Linked DNA regions of Homo sapiens: region 2 is linked to region 1. The links are contacts of gene promoters, found by promoter capture Hi-C in blood cells and fetal thymus (Javierre and others, 2016). All regions are on one chromosome and are shown on one strand. The core of a region is centred on a gene start or on the middle of the fragment in contact, and the rest is flanking DNA. Distances in the headings are between cores, read along the strand shown.

Region 1 (4,541 bases), core at 1,508-4,007:
TCAAAGCCAATTTCATGACTGCCTGAAAGGAAATATGGTTCCAAGTTCCAGCTGTGTTTCAAATCAGTGGTTTCATGTGAGGTCCTCGTGAGTCCTAGAGAAGACCTACTTTCTGGCCCAACAAGGGAACCCAAGGCATTTTTTAAAATGTGATTTTCTATTATAGATTTAAAACTACAGGAAATACCACAAAAGGAACTCCTGTTTTCCCCTACTAAAGTCAAAATAATGGAAGGCATGGTCTCCATAAGAATTATTTATCTTGGCCGGGTGTGGTGGCTCAGGCCTGTAATCCTAACACTTTGGGAGGCCAAGGTGGGCGGATCACTGGAGGTCAGGAGTTTGAAACCAGCCTGGCGAACATGGTGAAACCCTGTCTCTACTAAAATTACAAAAATTAGCCGGGCATGGTGGTGCACACCTGTAATCCCAGCTACTCGGGAGGCTGAGGCAGGAGAATCGCTTGAACCCAGGAGGCAGAGGTTGCCGTGAGCTGAGATTGCACCATTGCACTCCAGCCTGGGCAACAGGAGCGAAAACTCTGTCTCAAAAAAAAAAAAAAAAAGAATTAACTTAGGTGGTGGCAAAGAGAACATATACATTCTAAGCTGGAATGATTTCTGTAGTTGTTTTAATGCTTCCCTAGCTTGTTTGTCTCCATGACACTTACCTACTATACCAGTGTATTTCTTGTTCATTCATTTATTGTCTGTCTCTTCCTACTATAATATAAGCTCCATGAAGCCAGAGACTCTGTCTTTTAATCACTGATGTATCCCCAGTACCTAGGATAGTGTCTGGGATTGATTCTCAAGAAATATTTTTTTGAATAAAGGAAGAAAGGAAGGAAATAAGAAATTTCCACAAGATAAAAGAACACTCAAGATTTTCAGGCTGGAAATGTACCAATCTCTTGGCTTAGTACTATGTAGGAGGGCATAGATACAATACTATATTCACGTTTCAAATGACCAAATCATAACTAAAATCTAACTGGGGAAAAAAAAGGTAAGGCAGGTATTTAACTTACTTTAAGAGTTTATAATATGCAAATCGGAACATTTCTTGGATATAGACAGAGACAAACGCTCCAAAGATCAGCAGATATTTCTGTGTTGGTCCATCTTTGTTGTCAATAATGACTCTTGCCATGAACCAAACAAGGGACGAAATCAGTAGAGACACCAACCAGAAGAAAGCTCTGAAAAATACGGGAAAAAAAGTTACAAGTGAACATCAGTACAGGATTAATAATGTTTAAAAGCAGGAAAAAAAAAAAAACCTGCTTGAGAAGGAAGAGATTTCTTGACGTTTCAATAAGGAAAAGAAAGTCCTCATAAAGTGATACTCTGATCAGTTGTTCTTAACGGTGCATTTTCCTTGGTGAGACAAACGTGTCCAAGAGGAAGGCTGAGGTTTCCCAACAATTACTTTTTTCAATGACCCTGCTACTTGCAAGTACATCTGCAGACTCTATCTGCCAAGGACTATCTAGCTAGAAACTTGGTTATTTGCTACTCTTTCTAATCAATGCTCTGCCCATTGATGAGCCAAAACAAGAAAATACACAACCCTGATTACTGCAATTTTCATATTCTTAAAACTTACAAGAAATTATGGATTTACTGATCAGATATCTGCAAAGATGAGTATCTTTTCCAGAAAAATATCTACATCTCTATTAATAAAGTGACTGGTATAAAATTCAACTTGAAAACCTGTGTTCTGATCTGGATCAGTATCCAAGCCCTCCAGGTCTTACAGCACCCCTGGGGATTCTAATGATTATAGCAAGCTTTACAGACCCTTCCCAAATCTCTATTATTTTTAAAATGACATGCAGCGAAGCACTTTCAATACGTTTGTGGGAGGTGAAGAAACGCAGAAAAGCGGGAATCATTGGCCTAGTCTGGTGCCAAGAGAGACTCATCAGAGGAGGGGGGATGTGGTATGTGCAAGTAAGAGGCAGGTGATGACTGCGATGGGACACCAGAGTCCGGTATTTACCAAGCTCCCAGAAGGAGACGCACAGTCAGGTGCTTCGGTGTTTTTACAGGTTTCCACCCTTCGGCTGCACAACGGAACCATCCAAAAGGAGCTTAAATTTTTTTTTTTTTTTCTGAAGCCCGAATCCCATCCCCTAGACATTCTGATTCAATGGATCGGGGTGGGGGTGGGCATCGGCATGTTTTAAAGCACCTGGCCACAGGTGATTCTAATAGGCGGAAGTCGCGCACTACTATCCTAAACGCCAATGGTTTTTAACCCTTTGGGGATTACACATGCCTTTGAGAATCTGAGGGAAATTAGGGACTCCCCCTCCAGAAAATGAAGGATGCATATATGAACTTATCCATAATTTTTTTATACAACTTTAGTAGCTTCACGGATCACTAAACCCCACCCATGAGCCCCAGGCAAAAGGCCCTGACCCCCAGTGTGCGCTTCTTCCTAAGAGGGCGAGGCGCCTTTGGGGAGCCGGATCTCCGCTCTCCCCCTCTCAACCCTCCTCCCGTCTGAAACGCAACAAGGTCGAGCCGCGCGGTGGGGGCGCCGAGGGTCGCGGGTAACCCCAGCGGGGGAGGGGAGCCCCGGCGTCCGGGTTTCCCGACGCGACCGCCTCACCCGGCGATGAGGAAGATGATACGCAACGGCTCGGTGGCGATGGTGAAGACATAAAGGGCGAGCGCAGGCCCGAAGGCAATGAAGGCGCAGCCGAAGAACACGGCCGCAGTCATGGCCACCGCGGAAACCGACCCGGGGGCCCGTTGGGGACGCGAGATGCTCCCGGCGCGGGCGGGGTTCGGTGGGTGGGGCTCGGGGTGGGGGGCTAAGCGGGACGCGGGGGGCGGGGCGCGGCTCATGGGCAGGCACGGGGACGGGGGCGGGGCTCGGGGGCGGGGCACGTGGGGGCGGGGGCGGGGCTCGGAGGCGGGGTACGTGGGTCGCGGGGCGAGGCGGGGCGTGGGGGTAAACGCTAGGGCCTGGGGGACTGGGCGGGGCGTGGGCTGAGGGCGCCGGGCGCAGGGGCGGGCTCAAGGCGGTGAGCGCGGACCCCACCGTTGGGCCCTCCGCCCTACCGGGTGTCCGGAAGCGCCAGGGCCACGCCGCAGCTCCTGCTCCCGAGGCGGGCGTCCTCGGCGACGTTAGGGCCCCAGCCATCGCCGCAGCCCCACAGATACACTCCGATCGGGTTCCAGTGCCGGCCGCGAGGTGGTTAAGAGAAGGGAAGCTCCCTAGCCCACCTTCGAGCCGCATGCACCGAGAACAGGCAGAGATTCCAAGTCAACCAAAGAGACTAAACAAAAATGTAGCGCAGGAACAAGCAGGATTCCTTTTTAAATAGGTTTTTTTTTTTTTTTAAGCACATTTTACCGTTTGGATAGTTGCGGGAACTTCGTACTCCATCCTGTATAAAACCTAGGCTGGGATAGCAGTGACCCCGGGGATAACCCACAGATGGTAAAATGATGAAAGAGTGGTGGAAGAAGCTGCCCTTCTCAGGGCTGTTTCAGCCAAATGGTTTTTATTTTTTTCCCAATTCTTCAAAAGGGTTGTTTTTGCAGGCATTCTGTGACCACCCTACAAGCAATAGTAACATCTCCCTGCTCCGTCTTCTCACAGTCGTCCATTTCACTTGCTTATTTTTCTTCCCCGTTAAAACGCGAACTCCTGGGGGACAGGGACTTTGCTTTGCTCTTTGTTGTTTCCTCAGCACCTAGAAGTTCACTAATATCTGTTCAATAAGTGAAATAATTTAAAAGGTGGAAGTTATAAACATCTATATTAACAATTTCTGAAAGGTTTAAAAATTAAAACTTAAGTTCTCTGATCATTCACATCCAAGTTAGATTTTTCTTTATGTTGAATAATACTTCGTCGGTTATTTTGATCAGTGTGCCTGACACAGGTAAGTGCTATGTAAGTATTAACCACTCCTACATAATGTCCATCATGAATAAAGATTTTGGCAATCCACATTTAAAAAAACACCAGTAGACAAATGTTGGGACCTGACAGATGTTTTGCAGCTCGCCCCTGAAAATGCACCTTCAAATAATACAACTGCAGGTATTTAATTCTTACAGAAAAACATTACCTTTGCCCATTTAAAAGTCATATATATTTCCATTCACTCCCACAGAATACTTCTTCAGATTCCAGTGATTGTATTTTGAATGGTCAGATCCCAGCACAATACCTATCAAAACTCGGGTCGAGACAACAGTTCAGAGTGATAGATCTGCTTTGTAAAGATATGGAAAATGAGCTTCCAGACTGGAGGTCCTCAGTGCAACGCAGGCATGAGATGGCAGTGGCCTGATTCAGGGAATTAGCAGGACTCTGGAGGGAAGCAGACAAATTTAATAGAAGTTTAGGAATTGTACAAACAGAATTTAGTGACTAATGAGCTACATAGAGTGAGATGGGGGAAGAGTCAAGGATGAGGGCTTCTAGAGGGTTCGGGCTTAAGTGGATGCTGTGGAGACAGGAGGAGGAGAGAATATGGCAAAGTAGACACGATAATGAGTACCATTTTG
Region 2 (4,541 bases), core at 769-3,268, 55 kb after region 1:
CCCTTAAAGTTGAACCTAACTCCAGATTATGTCGCGATCACAAAAGGAAAATTGGTCCATTCTTGGTGGACCTGAATATTAGGAATTAGTTCTTTGAGCCTCTGAGTATGCTTAGCACAGCCATTTTATTATGAAATCCTTATTTCTAGATTAATCTGAAATAGATCTGATCATCCTGGCAAACTAGAGAAGACCCCATCTATGTAGGTCTGTTTTGAATCAGAATGAAGCTATCTCCCAAGGCAAGGTTCAAAATAAGAGATGTTAAGGAGATGGGGCAATTAGGTAATTTTCCACTCATATGATTGAAATCCATCCCATGTTAGCCTATGTGACAGGGACTGTGACACTCATGCTGCTCCAGGAAACATGATCTTGGTTCTACAGTAAGACTAGGAAGAACTAAAAAAGTTTGGATACCTGGGGTATTATCAGTGGTCAAATGTACTTGGCCATTTGAAGAATACCTTTTAAATATACATAAATATCTTCCAACATGGGATGAATATTTTCTATAACTTTTCTCTATCTAATTATAGTTGCATCTTCCAATTCTGAGTTTATAATGAGAAAGAAACTATGTTGGAAACAACTACAAATGATAAAAATAAATAAAATAAAATATGGCCAGCTGGCAGACTGTTCTACAACATCATTGAGGCTCCGTGCATCACTTGAATAAAGCTTGATAGTTTATAAGCATTTCCTTGTTTTGATCATCACAGACAACCCTGAAGATGTAGGTATAACAGGAATCATAAGTATCTCCACACGGAGAGAATGAGTGACTTACCCAACACCACAGTGCTATAAGTGACAGTGATTCCAAATCCAATACTCTGTCCACTACATCACACTGCTTCATTAGCAGACATTTTGTGGGATAATAAAATGGGTTGTTTTTATTCCTCTATGTGAGGCCGCACTATAGAAGAAAACAATATAAAGACAAAAGAAAAACTCCTTTTTTGGAACAGTGTATCAGTCAGGGTCTAGTCAGGAAAAAGAAATCAAATACAGTCATGTGTCACTTAACAACCAAGTACAGTCACGTGTCACTTAACAACCAGTACAAGTACAGTCGTGTGTCTTCAAGTATAGTCATGTGTCACTTAACAACCAGACGTTCTGGAAAATGCATTTTTAGGTGGTTTCGTCTTTGTGCAAACATCATAGCATGTACTACACACCTAGTCTACGTAGTATAGCCTGTTTATTGCTCCTAGGCTACAAACTTATATAGTATGCTACTGTACCAAATACTGTATGCAACTGTAACACAATGGTAAGTATTTGTGTGTTTAAACATATCTAAACATAGAAAAAGTACAGTAAAAACATGGTATAAAAGATAAAAAATGGTGGCTGGGCCCAGTGGCTCATGCCTGTAATCCCAGCACTTTGGGGCCGAGGCAAGTGGATCACCTGAGGTCAGGAGTTCGAGACCAGCCTGGCCAATACAGTGAAACCCCGTCTCTACTAAAAATACAAAAATTAGCCGGGCATGGTGGCAGGTGCCTGTAGTACCAGCTACTTGGGAGGCTGAGGCAGGAGAATCGCTTGAACCCGGGAGGTGGAGGTTGCAGTGAGCCAAAATCATGCCACTGCATACCAGCCTGGGTGACAGAGCAAGATTCCGTCTCAAAAAATAACAAAAAATAAGTAAAATAAAAATGGTATACCTATATAGGGTACTTACCATGAAAGGCGCTTACAGGACTGGAAGTTGCTCTGAAGGAATCAATGAGAGAGTGATGAGTGAATGTGAAGGCCTAGGACATTACTGTACACTACTGTAGACTCTATAAACACTATACACCTAAGCTACACCAAAATTATATTTAAAAAATAAGGTAACTGTAGTACAACATTACAATAGTTATGATGTCACTAGGCAACAGAAATGTTTTAGCTCCATTATAATCTTATGTGGGCCGGGCATGGTGGCTCACACCTGTAATCCCAGCACTTTGGGAGGCCAAAGCGGGAGGATCACTTGAGGTCAGGAGTTCGAGACCAGCCTGACCAACATGGTGAAACCCCATCTCTACTAAAAATACAAAAAAAATTAGTCGGGTGTCGTGGCATATGCCTGTAGTCCCAGTTACTCGGGAGGCTGAGGCAGGAGAATTGCTTGCGCCCAGGAAGCGGAGGTTGCAGTGAGCCAAGATTGTGCCACTGCACTCCAGCCTGAGCAACAGAGTGAGACTCCGTCTCAAATAATAATAAAAATCATCATTATCATCATCATCATCAACTTATGGGACAACCATCCTATATATGATCCATCATTCACTATAATGTTGTTATGTGGTGCATGACTGTATTTACAACAGAAGGAATTTAATAGAGGGAACTGGCTATATAAGGCATTAAATTGCTGCAAACCATATTGGGGATGGTAAAAGGTTTAACAACAGCAGGGAGCCACTACCACCCCTAAGCCGGAGAGACAAAAGGAAGAGATGACAACAGCAGGGAGCCACTACCACCCCTTAGCTGGACAGACAAAAGGAGGAGATGGTGTTATAGGAACTGAAGACATAGAGTCACTGGACAAGAACCATGGTGGTCCTGTCCAGTGAGAACTAAAGCCAGAGAGAAACAGTCTCTGCTAGAGAAGCCACCCAAGGCAAGAAGGGAAAAAGAGAAATATCTTGGTTTCTCCCTTTCTCCTCTTGCATTATTTCCTGCCAGTTTCTCTAATCAGCTGAACCCAGTCTGAAGCTAGCTGACCCAGAAGCCTGGGTGGAGAAACAGGGAAGAATGAATATTAGAGAAAACTGACCAAGGGCTACAGTTAATCCTCAGCTGCAATAATCAAATATGTGACTGTTACAAGCAACTGAGATTTTGGGGTTGTATAACTGCAAAAGCTGACTGATACATGCCTCCACAAACATCAAGTAGGTAAATAAATAAGCAGACAGAAGTGAAATAAATGGAGAATCAAAAGTGAAATCATAGCAATAATTACTTTTAATAATTGCTTTGAAGACATTTCCACTATTAATTCGTGAGCCCAGGGTGGAAGGCAAGCACATGTACAGACCCCCAACCATGCTCTGGTCCTGAAGGAGAAGTCCATTCAGGAACCTGTCTAGCTATGTGGTGGGATCCCCAGCTAGCGGTGGAGATGAGCCCTGGCCAGGACTGTCTTATAGCTTCACAATTAACTGGGCAGTTCGGGACAGGATGACCTGGTGAACTGGGAGTGTCATATGCTGGCAAGTGAGGAGCCAGGACTTCCAAAAAGGAAGTTTGTCACTGAGTCAGCGATGTTGCCAAGCCCTAAGCCAGAGCAGTACTAATATAGCTCAAAGGTAACCACTGACATGGCCATTCAAGCTTTTTGCTTATAATACTTCTAGCACAGTACTAGCTTCCATCATAATACATACAGTATAGCTTCATTAGTTATTTATAATCCCTCCCTTCTCCCAAAGTAGACTGTATGCACCACAGGATACTGGATACCTTTTTAGTTTATGTAACTCTACAATTACCCATCTTAAAATATATGGCCCCATCCAACATATCCAACATTATTTTTCACAATTCCTCAGCATAAAACCTCAGAAATGCCTCTTTCATGCTCTGTGGTATTCCCTGCCTCTAAGCATTTTTCAAGATCTCCCCATTGTCTGGAACATTCTCCATCCTTTCCATCTGAATCCTGAAAGTGCCTCAAGATTCAGAAACTCTACCTCCTCTGTCCTCCAGTTATTCCAGCCAACTCTGCTCACTCTCTACCCTAAACTCCTACAGAATTTAGAATGCATATCATTATGCATGTGGCAATTAATTATTTTTGTTGTTTCATTTAAGTTTTACCTTCCCAATTACACTTGAGCAGAGGATCTAGCACTGTATACGGCTGATTAAATAAGTGCCTGATAAATGTTTAAAGGAATAAATGAAAGATAAACCCTTTTTAAAAAAAAGCAGGAGCCTCATCTTTTACTTACAGTACTTCATTTGGAACCTCCCTCCTGTTTGCCAAGCAAGTAACAGGCACTCAATAAACATTTCTTGACACTGATCAATTACTTTGGAATACAATCAGGTTTACATATGTCTAGATTGATCCTACTGGAATGAATCTTAATGGCTGGCAAATTAAGTTACATATTTGGGTAACTTTAAGTGATAAAACAAAAAAGTGAAACACAAAAAACACTAAAATATGAAACCACTGAAAGTTTCAAAAAATACCACTTGACTCTTACTCCTCCTTACTCTTATATGTGCAGTGAACACTGTACTCTCTTCTATTCTCATGTTCTTGTCCTACTGTCTTTCCCTCCATTTAAAAAAAAAAAGTTGGTCTGTACACAGTAAATTGACTTCATGACCCAATAAAGGGTTGCAATCCATATTAAAAACACCGGCCTAAAGAACATTCTAGAATAATTTTCTTAAATTATTAAGTACAAATGACAAAACAGTACTAAGCATACATAAAGTAGATGTCTTCATTTTAGAATGAAGAAAAGGCAACAATGCAGTCTCTTCTAGAGAAATGAAATAGAACGAAAGGT

Evidence for each region. The method cuts DNA at HindIII sites, captures the fragments that hold promoters and counts their contacts. A CHiCAGO score of 5 or more calls a contact.
Region 2: a fragment that was not itself captured here is called in contact with the fragment with the promoter of APH1B in region 1 in 2 of 17 cell types (M2 macrophages and M1 macrophages); the score reaches 5.5 in M2 macrophages.

Annotation. Positions count from the first base shown.
Region 1 is chr15:63,275,821-63,280,361 of GRCh38, reverse strand. It overlaps APH1B (aph-1B gamma-secretase subunit), which reads right to left and starts at 2,757. Exons shown (of 6, transcript NM_031301.4): 1 at 2,626-2,757; 2 at 1,031-1,201. The coding sequence starts at 2,738. LOC124903504 (a long non-coding RNA gene) reads right to left here. Exons shown (of 2, transcript XR_007064674.1): 2 at 3,510-4,344. RefSeq lists silencers at 2,451-2,730, 2,811-3,230. The HindIII fragment of the contact is 9,433 bases long and covers 1,798-4,541 here.
Region 2 is chr15:63,220,232-63,224,772 of GRCh38, reverse strand. All of the region lies in intron 1 of RAB8B (RAB8B, member RAS oncogene family), which reads right to left. Among named protein-coding and RNA genes, the nearest start is that of RAB8B, 33 kb to the right of the region's middle. The HindIII fragment of the contact is 2,664 bases long and covers 687-3,350 here.